2 separate regions of the Homo sapiens genome follow, and region 1 is linked to region 2. The links are contacts of gene promoters, found by promoter capture Hi-C in blood cells and fetal thymus (Javierre and others, 2016). All regions are on one chromosome and are shown on one strand. The core of a region is centred on a gene start or on the middle of the fragment in contact, and the rest is flanking DNA. Distances in the headings are between cores, read along the strand shown.

Region 1 (4,832 bases), core at 1,689-4,188, 230 kb before region 2:
GCTCTCCGATCAGGCTGTTCCTGATACCCATGCTCAGTGTGGCTCACGGGCAGACTCTGCACCAGATGCTGATGGGTCTCCTGGCCACCTGGCTCCTCCATGGCCCACCCGGTGCTGAAACTTCCAGTAACCCACAGACCCAGGCTCTACCTGTGGGAGGTGATGATGATGGCCTTGCCAGACTCTCGGGCTCGTGCCACGGTGTCCCAAAGCAGGCGCCGGGCCACGGGGTCCATGCCAGTGGACGGCTCGTCCAGGAAGATGACAGCAGGCTCTCCGATCAGGGCGATGCCGGTGCTCAGCTTCCGCTTGTTACCACCACTAGAGGCAGGAGGGTGCCAGGTGGGGGAATAAGGCTGAGAGTTAGCATTGGCTCCCATGTCCCAGTGGAGGCCCGTGTCCCAGCAGCGGCCCACACCCAGCAATTGCAGAACAGCCCTAGTGAAGAGGAAGGAGCTGTGTGTGCACCTGGAAAGCCCACCGCATAGGGCTGGAGGCCCCAGAGAAGGCTGTTCCCAGGGGCCCGGTGCACGCACCTACATGGGAAGACATCTGCCTGCACCTAAAGGGGACCTGCCGACCCTGACATCTCTCACTGCTGGCTTTGTCCCTAGGTGGCAGGCACTGTCAGGGCAGTCCCTTTCCTACGTGGAGCTACCTGGGTCACACCACCACATCCCAGCTCCATCCTGGAGCCACAAGCAGGAGCTCTGGCTGCTGACCTGAGCGGTCACTCCCAGCTCTATGCTATGGGGACCTTGATTCTGACTCCACTCTGGGAAGGGCCAGGGCTCGGGAGGTGCACCTGTACGTCCTGACCAGCTTGTTGGCATGTGGCTCCAGCAGCAGGCCCCGCAGAGTGTTCTCCACGCAGGCCCCGATGTGGCGCTCAGGGATGCCCCGGAGCCGAGCGTACATGACCAGCATCTCCCGGCCTGTCATGTGGTCCAGCAAGGCATCAAACTGCGGGCAGTAGCCGATCCGCTGCCGCACCTGGGGTCGGAGCATAGCCGGGGAGGGAGGCGGGTTGGAGGGAAGCCTCCTTCCTCCAGAGGACCACGGGGACTACCCTTGAGGTGCCCACCACTGCGCCTGTCTGTGGTTCCTGCCAGTGTGTGTACACGGGGGCGCTGGAGCTATGCACAGGCCGTGGTGGCTGCCCACAGTGGAAGCTCTTGGAACAGGGACACAGGAAGGATGTGCCTGGTGCAGGGAGGCTTCCAGAGCTGCTCTCAGAGCCTGGTCCAGGACAGGCAGCCATGGGGTTAGGTGGTGCAAGAATGGCCTTTACGTAGAAGCAGACTCAGAGCTGGCTACCCACTCATTCACACCTGGGACATCTGATGTGCTAGGACTCTTTCTTCTCCCTCTAAGAAGAAAGATTTGTGGGCACCACGTTTGGGGTGAGTACTGCTTGGTCAGATGGTGCAGCAGCTGTTCTCTGCACAAGTGACCACGTCCAGCTGAATTAAGACGTGCCTGCTGCCATCTGCTTAGCTACCTTCAGCAGCTGGTCGGGGGCAGGAGTGCCTGGGTTCTGTGGATTCCAGAGACTGGATTTCTTTTTCTTTACCTTCCTTCTTTGGGGTTCTCAAGCTTCCAGAATTTTTTTTTTTTTTTTTGAGACAGAGTCTTACTCTGTCTCCCTTACACTGGTAGAGCGCAGTGGCATGATCTCGGCTCACTACAACCTCTGCCTCCCAGGCTCAAGTGATTCTCATGCCTCAGGCTCCCGAGTAGCTAGGATTATAGGCACCTGCCACCATGCCCTGCTAATTTTTGTATTTTTCTTTGGTAGAGACAGCATTTTGCCATGTTGGCCAGGCTGGTCTCGAACTCTAGACCTCAAGTGATCTGCCTGCCTTGGCCTTCCAAAGCTGGGATTATAGGCGTGAGCCACGCTCCCAGCCCAGAATCTGTTTTTAATCAGTTTGGGGAAAGTCTTAGCCACTACCTTTTTGGCTACTACCCCCTGCCACTCTCTCTCTCTCTTCCTTCTGGAACTCAGATTACATGTACTGGGGACTTCTCACCCTCTCCTCCATTGCTAGATCACATACGGTTTTCTCTCCCCTGCATAGATTTTCAATTGCATAATTTATTTCTGTAGACACAGTGAGTTTATAATCTTTTATAATCTGGCCTGATGATGCAGATCTAACGCCTATGTGCTTGTCCCCCCATGGGGCCTGTGTCTATTGCTTCCAGCCATGGTACCATCTCCTCTGTTTGTTTGCTGTGCATTGCCTGTAAGCCCTGGAACCCTCTATGGGGGAGTCTGCAGCCTAGGATGAGGCTTTCCTCCCGAGAGGGCCTGCATGTGCTCTGGCCCAGGGCCTCTGCTGTCCAGGCACCCCTGGTGTGAGCTCAGGAGAGGACTCCGCGGCCACTTCTCAGCCCCAGGCCCTGCTTACCATTTCCCCTGCTCTGCTTGGCACACTTGAATTCCCATGCAGGCCCCGGGCAGAGGTGCAGGAGGGCTGCCTCTGGTCCTTCTGCGGGGGAGCTGGTGGGGCTCAGCTCAACATGGGAAAGCTGGGCGGGCCCAGGGCCTTCCATCCCTTCACTCAGCAAGGCCTCTAACCCCACACCTGAGCTGCCTGGACACAGAATGGCCTCTGCACAGAGGTGGCTGTCAGTGCTGAATGCGCCTCTCTGGGCTCACGGATGTTGGCACCCATCTCTCTCCCCTCCCATCACCTGCTAGTTCTGGCGAAGCTTAGCTTTAGCTCATTACCTTGTCTCGCTGTCCAGAGGCATGTGCTGGGCCCATTTCAAGCCACAGATGCAGCAGCTGTTTGGGGACAGCATCCCTCTGTCCCTGCCTCCAGGGTGCCCCCTCCAGCCATGCCTGTCTCACCCCTTCAGAGCCTCCCTGGCTGCACCCACCTTTCCGACATCAGAGCTGATTCTGTGACCCCCGACAAAGGCATCCCCAGAAGTGAGGCTCTCCTCCCCGGTCAGCATTTTGAAAGTCGTGGTCTTCCCGGCTCCATTGAAGCCCAGCAGGCCGAAGCACTCCCCTTTCTGCACCGCGAGGGAGAGCCTGTCCACGGCCAGGAGGGGCACCCGCTGCTCGTACACCTGCAGGCACCCAACAGAAAACACGGAATGCGGAGGCCTGGACGCAAAGCAGAGCAGTCTGAGCCTCAGCGCCGAAAGCTTCCAGGGATGGGGTCGGACCCTGGGGACAGCCAGGTAGTCAGCTGGCAGGAAGGACTCCACCCCAAATTGCAAGGGTACCTTGGAGAGCTCCTTGATAATCAGAGGTGTGTGGAGCAGGGAGTCCGGACTGGGGGCCAGGATGCGGGTCCTCTCGTCCGCTACATCTTGGTCCTCAGGAAGCACAGGCATCCGGGTGTATAATTCTGTCTGATTGACCAGGACAAAGACCGCATGCGTGAACCCAGCCGCAGGGCGGCTTCCGTGGAGAAGGGAGGGGCGGGGGTGGATGTGGGAGGTCTGGTGGGACTAAGGCCTTCAAGGCTTCTCGTCCCAATCTCAGGCCCCACAGGTGCGACTCAGACCTTTTACTAGAAGACACAGTGGTCTTACGGGGCTAAACTAGCATCCAGGAGACATAAACTATCTGAGGAAAAAGAACTGTGCGGGACTCATGGAGAAAAATCATAAATCTGCTGGGGAATATAAAATAAGATTTTTAGACAATTTTTTTTTTTTTTTTGAGACAGAGTCTCACTCTGTTGTCCAGGCTGGAGTGCAGTGGCGCAATCTCAGCTCACTGCAAACTCTGCCTCCCAGGTTCAACTGATTCTCCTGCTTCAGCCTCCCGAGTAGCGCGCCACCACGCCCAGCTAATTTTTGTATTTTTAGTAGAGACGGAGTTTCACTGTGTTGGCCAGGCTGGTCTAGAACTCCTGACCTTTGGTGATCCGTCCACCTTGGCCTCCCAAAGTGTTGGGATTACAGGCATTAGCCACCATGGCTGGCCTGAAAGTAAGATTTTTGTTTTCAGATTTAGAGATGGGGTCTTGCTCTGTCACCCAGGCTGGGATGCAATGGTGTAATCATAGGTCACTGCAGCCCGGACCTCCCAGGCTTAAGCCTCCTGTCTCAGCTTCCCTAGTAGCTAGGATTACAGGTGTGTGCCATCATGCCTAGCTAATTTTTAAAACTGTTTAGAAGAGATAGGGTCTCACTATGTTGCCCAGACTAGTCTTGAACTCCTGGCTTCAGGTGATCCACCTACCTCTGCTTTCTAAAGTGCTGGGATTACAGGTGTGAGCCACCATGCCTGGCCAAAGATTTTAACACGTGGAGACAGTTCCCTTTTTAGAGAAGTCTGACTATTTTAAAGAAGTGAATTCCCCCTCGGCTAAGCTGTATGTGCAATGCAATGTCAACACATTTGCTTTTGTTTGTTTGAGGGAGGGGATGGAGACCTGAGAAAATGAACGTTTTCAATAAACACGTGGAGCACCCCTCAGCCCCACATCCCCTCCTCCGGGCACTGGGTGTCCCTGGGCACCACCTCTGCTCAGCAGGACTGGGCACCCCTCAGCCCCACATCCCCTCCTCCGGGCACTGGGTGTCCCTGGGCACCACCTCTGCTCAGCAGGACTGGGCACCCCTCAGCCCCACATCCCCTCCTCCGGGCACTGGGTGTCCCTGGGCACCACCTCTGCTCAGCAGGACTGGGCAACCCTCAGCCCCACATCCCCTCCTCCGGGCACTGGGTGTCCCTGGGCACCACCTCTGCTCAGCAGGACTGGGCACCCCTCAGCCCCACATCCCCTCCTCCAGGCACTGGGTGTCCCTGGGCACCACCTCTCCTCAGCAGGACGGCCCTGGGCCCCCAGGCTGACTCCTCG
Region 2 (5,285 bases), core at 233-2,732:
GACAGCCTGACAGATGTCCTTCTGCTTAGAGAAATGGCGGTCACCAGTGACCTTGGCAAGGGCAAGGAGCTGGAGAGGGAAGGGCAGGTGAGGAGGTGGAGACAGAGTGAAGATTCGTCTTCTCAGAAACAAGGGCCGGGCAAGAAAGAGGGAGGAGCAGAAAGGGCCTCTGGCCGTATCTGTTGCCTCCTCTCCTTTGAACCAGGACAGACTTAGGGACTTTCACGGGCTGCAAGTTCCAAGAGTGGCAGACCCAGGCTAGCCTGGGGAAGGGGCTTGAGGGAGGCTCCTGCTGGGGAAGGTGGGGCTGAGTCCAGCAGGAGGGCCAGACCAGGGGCCATGACCCCATTGCCTACATAGAGAAGGTGATGAGCCAGCATCCAGGCTACTCAGGGAGAGCTCTAACCCAGGATGAGGCCTTAGAGCTCAAAGGACACTCAGGCCTGGTGGCAGCTGCCCAGGGCCCCTGAAAGGGGGAATGGAGATCAGGCAGAGGGGGTGCCAGGGACTGCCACACAGGATCAGTAGGGCAGCGCCAGCCCTGGCTGGGCTGCTTTCACGGCTGCGGGAACCGCTCCAACTGCTCCAGAAAGACAGAAAGATGGCCCTGAAGGTGCAGGCTTTGCGTGAGTGGGTGGCTGCAAGGACAGGTGGGAGGACCAGGACGCCAGAACGTGCAGAGCCCGGGGGGCCTCCAGAGGTCGCAGTTCCGACAGGGCTTCCACCAGTCATGCCTACATCTTGAGGGGCAGAGACACACCCCACTAATGTTTGGGTCCCTGATGCAAAGGCAGAGACAGGTGCGGGGAGGGGGTCCTTTTTCTCCGAAGCGAGAGGTGAAGTCACCAACTGCTGGGTCAGAGGCAGTAGGTCTGGGTCTGGAGGAGACTGGGGACAGGGTGGAGGGAGGTGACCGCAGCCACGGGCTGGGACTTCACAGGTGTGGGCTGGGGGCTTTTCCGGACGCTGTGGCAGAGGAGGCCCGCGCGCCGCACATCTGCTGGGACCCTTAGCTCGCCCAGGATTGGTAGGGAGATCCTGGAAGACCAGCGCCCGGAGGGGTGAGGCCCCGTCTTGGGGGCAAGGCCGCGAAACCACGGCCTGCAGCTTCACGCCAGGGGTACAAAGAAAAGCGTCGCCGGGAACCCAACACCTGCAGACGACGCGCAGCCGCAGAGGAGGCGGGGCGTCCGAGGCCCCGCCCCGTATGCTAATGAAGCACACACCACACCGCCCCGCCCCGGCGCGAGACCGGTCCAACGCTGCGGAGATCCAGAGGCCGGCGGCGCCCGGAAACACCCGCGGAGGCCGAGGCAGGGCGGGGCCGGGCGCCGGGGCCGGGTCGCTGGGCGGGCGGCACAGCCCGGGGGAGGTCAACGGGCCGGCCGGGCGTCCCGGGGACGCGTCTCCCCCACGGTGCGAAGTGGTACGGCTCGCAGGGGCGGGGCCCAGGTCATGTGACGCGGCCGCGGCCGCCATTTTGTTCTGCGGTGCTGGTATTTAGAGCGCAGCGGCTGACGGGCCGGATCGCCTTCGCCGCCGCCCGCCCGCAAACCTTCGTGCCCGGCCCGTCCTCGCCCCCGCCTCCGCCACCGCCTCGGCCCGCAGAGCTTGCCCCCTCCCCACCCGCAGACATGTCCGAGTCCAAGAGCGGCCCCGAGTATGCTTCGTTTTTCGCCGTCATGGGCGCCTCGGCCGCCATGGTCTTCAGCGGTGAGCGCGGCGGCGGGAGGGACTCGGGGGCGGGGGCGCGCGCGTTGCTCATGCCCGCAGCTCGCCGGGGTCCGGTGTGTGACGTCACTCTGACGTAATCCCGAGCTGTCGGGGGCGCCCGGGCCTCGTGTGACAGCGGGCGGGGGTCGGCGCCCCGAGGGCTGCGGGGAGCCGCCGGGGGTCCGGGGCGCAGGGCGTGCGGGCCTGGCCGGGGTGTGAGTCTCGGGGGTCCGGGCCGGCGGCCCTGCCAGCCGGGTCGTGCGGTTGCGGGGGTGGGGCGGCGGCGCCGCTGCCATATTAGCCCCGGGAGCGGCGAGAGGGAGGCTGGGGTGGGGGCGCGAGGGGGGCGGCGCGAGGGGGGCCGATTCTGCGGGCAGGTGACATCACACCTCGAAGGCCCCAGTGCGCGGGCGGCGGCGCGGGTCCGGCCCAGGAACGCCCAGCCGGTCGCTGGAGCTTTCCGGCTGGTGGGGAGCCCATGTCCCCCACGGGAGGTCCTCAGCCCTCGCCCTTATGGCGGCCGGCCCCGAGGGTCAGGTGGGTCTCACCCACAGGCAGGTACTTCCGGTTGGAGCTGGTTACAGTTGCCCAATACCCGTGTCGCTGTGTGGGCTGTTTGGGAAAGCTGGGCTGAGGGCTTGGTTCGGAGAGCCCGCGGAGACCCGGGTGGGAGTGTGTGGAAGTGGAGGGAGCGGGGAGACAGCAGCATCGGCGCTGGCGGGGCTGTGTAGCTTGCAGAGGGTCTGTGCTCTGAGGTGGGTGAGAGGGTGGCATGGGTGTCCGAGTTTATGGGATCCAGTCGTTGCCCTCAGGACTGAGGCTTCCAGTTGTGGTCCTAATGAATGGAGGGGTGAATGAATGACCTTCCTTTCCCTCCCTGAGGCCTGAAGTTGGGAGGGGCTTCCCTGGGCTTGGAGAAGGGGCCTTCTAGGGTTCTTGGTGGCACCCTGCTTTTGAAATTGGGCCTTGACAGGTCCTGGGCGTCCAATTTAGTGACAATTGGTCTCCCTGGGAGAATGGCACTTGGGCTAGGGCTAGGCCCAGGAATGTGGGTCCGACGAGTTAAGTTCTGGCCCAGTCTCAGCCTCCGTGGACTGGCCTGGCCTGGTCTGATTTCCGCCTCCGTGGTTAGGTCTGGTTTTAGCTTTGATGACCGTGCCCTGCCCCACCCTGCCTGGTGGCCTGGGGAGGCTCCTAGTGCAGATATGTGGAGGGTTTGAACTCCAAACAGTCTCTGCTGACTGTAAACACCTGTGGGGTGGGGGCTTGGAGCTCTCTGTTCTCTTGCGGGCCTCCTTCTGCCTGGGCCTGTCTGCCATTCGTGAGTGAGCCCTGGCCTTCCCGTCGTGTGCAAGTAAGGGGTCATTTGTGGTGGAAGAAGTGGTCTAGACTTCTCCTTCCCCCTAGGCACCGCCTGCTCTTTCCACAGACTCAAGGCTTCTCCCAACAGGCTGCCGAGCCCTTCCCCCCAGCCTCCTCTGTTCTTTGCCCTCAGAATGCCTTCAGAGATTCCATTTTGCCTGGCCACCTGTGGGGTATTAGCTTGTGGCTGTCACTCATTCATCCAAACAATCTTGATTGAGCGCTTACTATGTGCCAGGTACTGGTAGGACAGCAGTGAACAAAATGGGATCCCCGCCCATGTGGAACTTAAATTCTAGCTGTTGCTGCTTGCCCTTGAAGCCCTGAGTTTGTCCACCAAGCCCTTTTTCTGCACCCAGCTCCTTTCCTCTCTCTCCGTCAAGACCTACACAGGTCTTTGGGCAGCCTGACCAGCAGGTGTCTGGAAATTGAGAACACGGTATTGCTGGCCTAGGCCTTTCCTGCTTATCCCTGGCTCTTCGGGATAAACGTGGCTTACTGTGGCTCTCCAGGAGCTGACCTCTGACTTCACTTGGCCAATTCAGACAACTGCTTTTTTTTTTTTTTTTTTTTTTCTCCCCTCCTCAAGACAGGGTCTTGCTCTGTTTCCCAGGCTGGAGTGCAGTGGTGTGGTCATGGCTCACTACAGCCTCAACCTCCCAGGCTCAAGCAATCCTCCTGCCTCAGCCTCCTGAATAACTAGGACTACAGGCACAGGCTACCATGCCCAGCTAATTTTTTTTTTTTAGAGACAGGGTCTCGCCATGTGGCTCAGGCTGGTCTCAAACTCCTTGTTGCCTCAAACGATCCACCTGCTTCTGCCTCGTAAAGGGCTGGGATTATAGGCATGAGCCACCATGACTGGCTCAACTTCTGACTTCATTTCTGCCTTCTCAGCATGCTTTCCTCCAGGACCTGGCTTCACCTGCTGTGCCGACCTAAACAAGCCCCCTGCCCTCCAGTGGCCTCTGCTGTTGCCACAACGCCAACCTCCAGCTGTGTCCCCAGCTCCTGGCCCTTGGCCTGCCTGGCACTGACGGATTGGTCTTAAACCGAATGAGGTCCACAAACCTCTTGCAGGCCCCCGTCCCAGCTTCCCCTTTTTTTTCTCATGACAAATGTCCTGTTCTTTCTTCATCATGTCCTTCAAGAAGTTGTCATTTGCTCCTTTTCTGTATTTCCTGTGACTTCCTCCCTGCTGGCGAGTGCCTTGTATTTTATGCTTGTGTTTCTGCAACTGCTTTCTGGCCCCCCACTCTTTCTGTGGCTGCTGAGCCTAGTGCCGCTCACAGGTCTGCCTTCTGCAGTCTGGTCAGGCTTGGCCTCCGGACTGGAGTCCAGGGTGCTCATGGTATTCCGCTCCTGGTGGCCATCCCTTTCTTCCCTGTGCTCCTCTTGGTGCCTCCTCCCCCTGCCAGCCACATGATTCTTCCTGCTGCCCTCTGTAGAAAAGGGCCTGGCTCACTTCCTGCCTCTGGTGGACTACTGGCCTCACAGGGTCCACTACTTGGGTTGCTGAGTTCCCTGTATTCAGTCTCCTGCCAACGTGTCTGCCATGCTCTGGTCTCTTGTGCATACATGATGCAGTTGGATGTGGTCCTGGGCCTGCAGTGGGAGCCCCCTAAAATGCACTGTAATTGCTCTATATGCTTGCCAGGGAAAAAATGCACTGTAACCAGGAGTTCAGGACAGGCGCTGGGACAGGCCCTGGGCCCCAGTCTGCAGGTGCACTGGGTGTTGGCATGGCATGTCTGGGCACCTCCAAGGTGGCGTGGAGGAGGCCGTGTGGCTCCCTGGCCCAGGTCCCAGCCTCCTTCCTCCCTCTATAGTCACTCCCTGGATACCCAGCACCGTCGTCTTGGGTGCCTCTGCAGGTGCTATCCAGAGCCCTTGTCTTATTGCCTTGTTTTTCTGTGACTCCTCTCTCCCGCCAACTTGGGATACTTGTCTGTGAAGCCCTTCCCCAGCACCCCCTTCTCCGCTCTCCTGGAGCATGTCTCTGTGCCTGGAGGTCACCGCGCCTGTGTCCTCACCCCTGCTGAGTGCTGGGACACAGGGTAGGCAAGTTTTGTGGCCCAAATATATCAATAAAATATGAAGAGGAATGGTAGGGGTAGTCCTGGTCCCTTCCACCTCTGACATATGTAGTCTTCTGCAGGTCAGGCTGTTTGTGTGTGTGTGTGTGTGTGTGTGTGTGTGTGTGTGTGTGT

Evidence for each region. The method cuts DNA at HindIII sites, captures the fragments that hold promoters and counts their contacts. A CHiCAGO score of 5 or more calls a contact.
Region 1: a contact is called between a fragment that was not itself captured here and the fragment with the promoter of ATP6V0C in region 2, in 1 of 17 cell types (endothelial precursors). The highest score is 5.6, in endothelial precursors.

What each region holds. Positions count from the first base shown.
Region 1 is chr16:2,278,138-2,282,969 of GRCh38, forward strand. It overlaps ABCA3 (ATP binding cassette subfamily A member 3), which reads right to left. Exons shown (of 33, transcript NM_001089.3): 27 at 3,244-3,372; 28 at 2,890-3,084; 29 at 806-993; 30 at 151-321. Among named protein-coding and RNA genes, the nearest start is that of MIR4717, 5.9 kb to the left of the region's middle. The HindIII fragment of the contact is 444 bases long and covers 2,717-3,160 here.
Region 2 is chr16:2,512,470-2,517,754 of GRCh38, forward strand. It overlaps ATP6V0C (ATPase H+ transporting V0 subunit c), which reads left to right and starts at 1,483. Exons shown (of 3, transcript NM_001694.4): 1 at 1,483-1,713. The coding sequence starts at 1,635. RefSeq lists an enhancer at 1-293 and silencers at 1,199-1,678, 2,099-2,238. The HindIII fragment of the contact is 13,121 bases long and covers 1-5,285 here.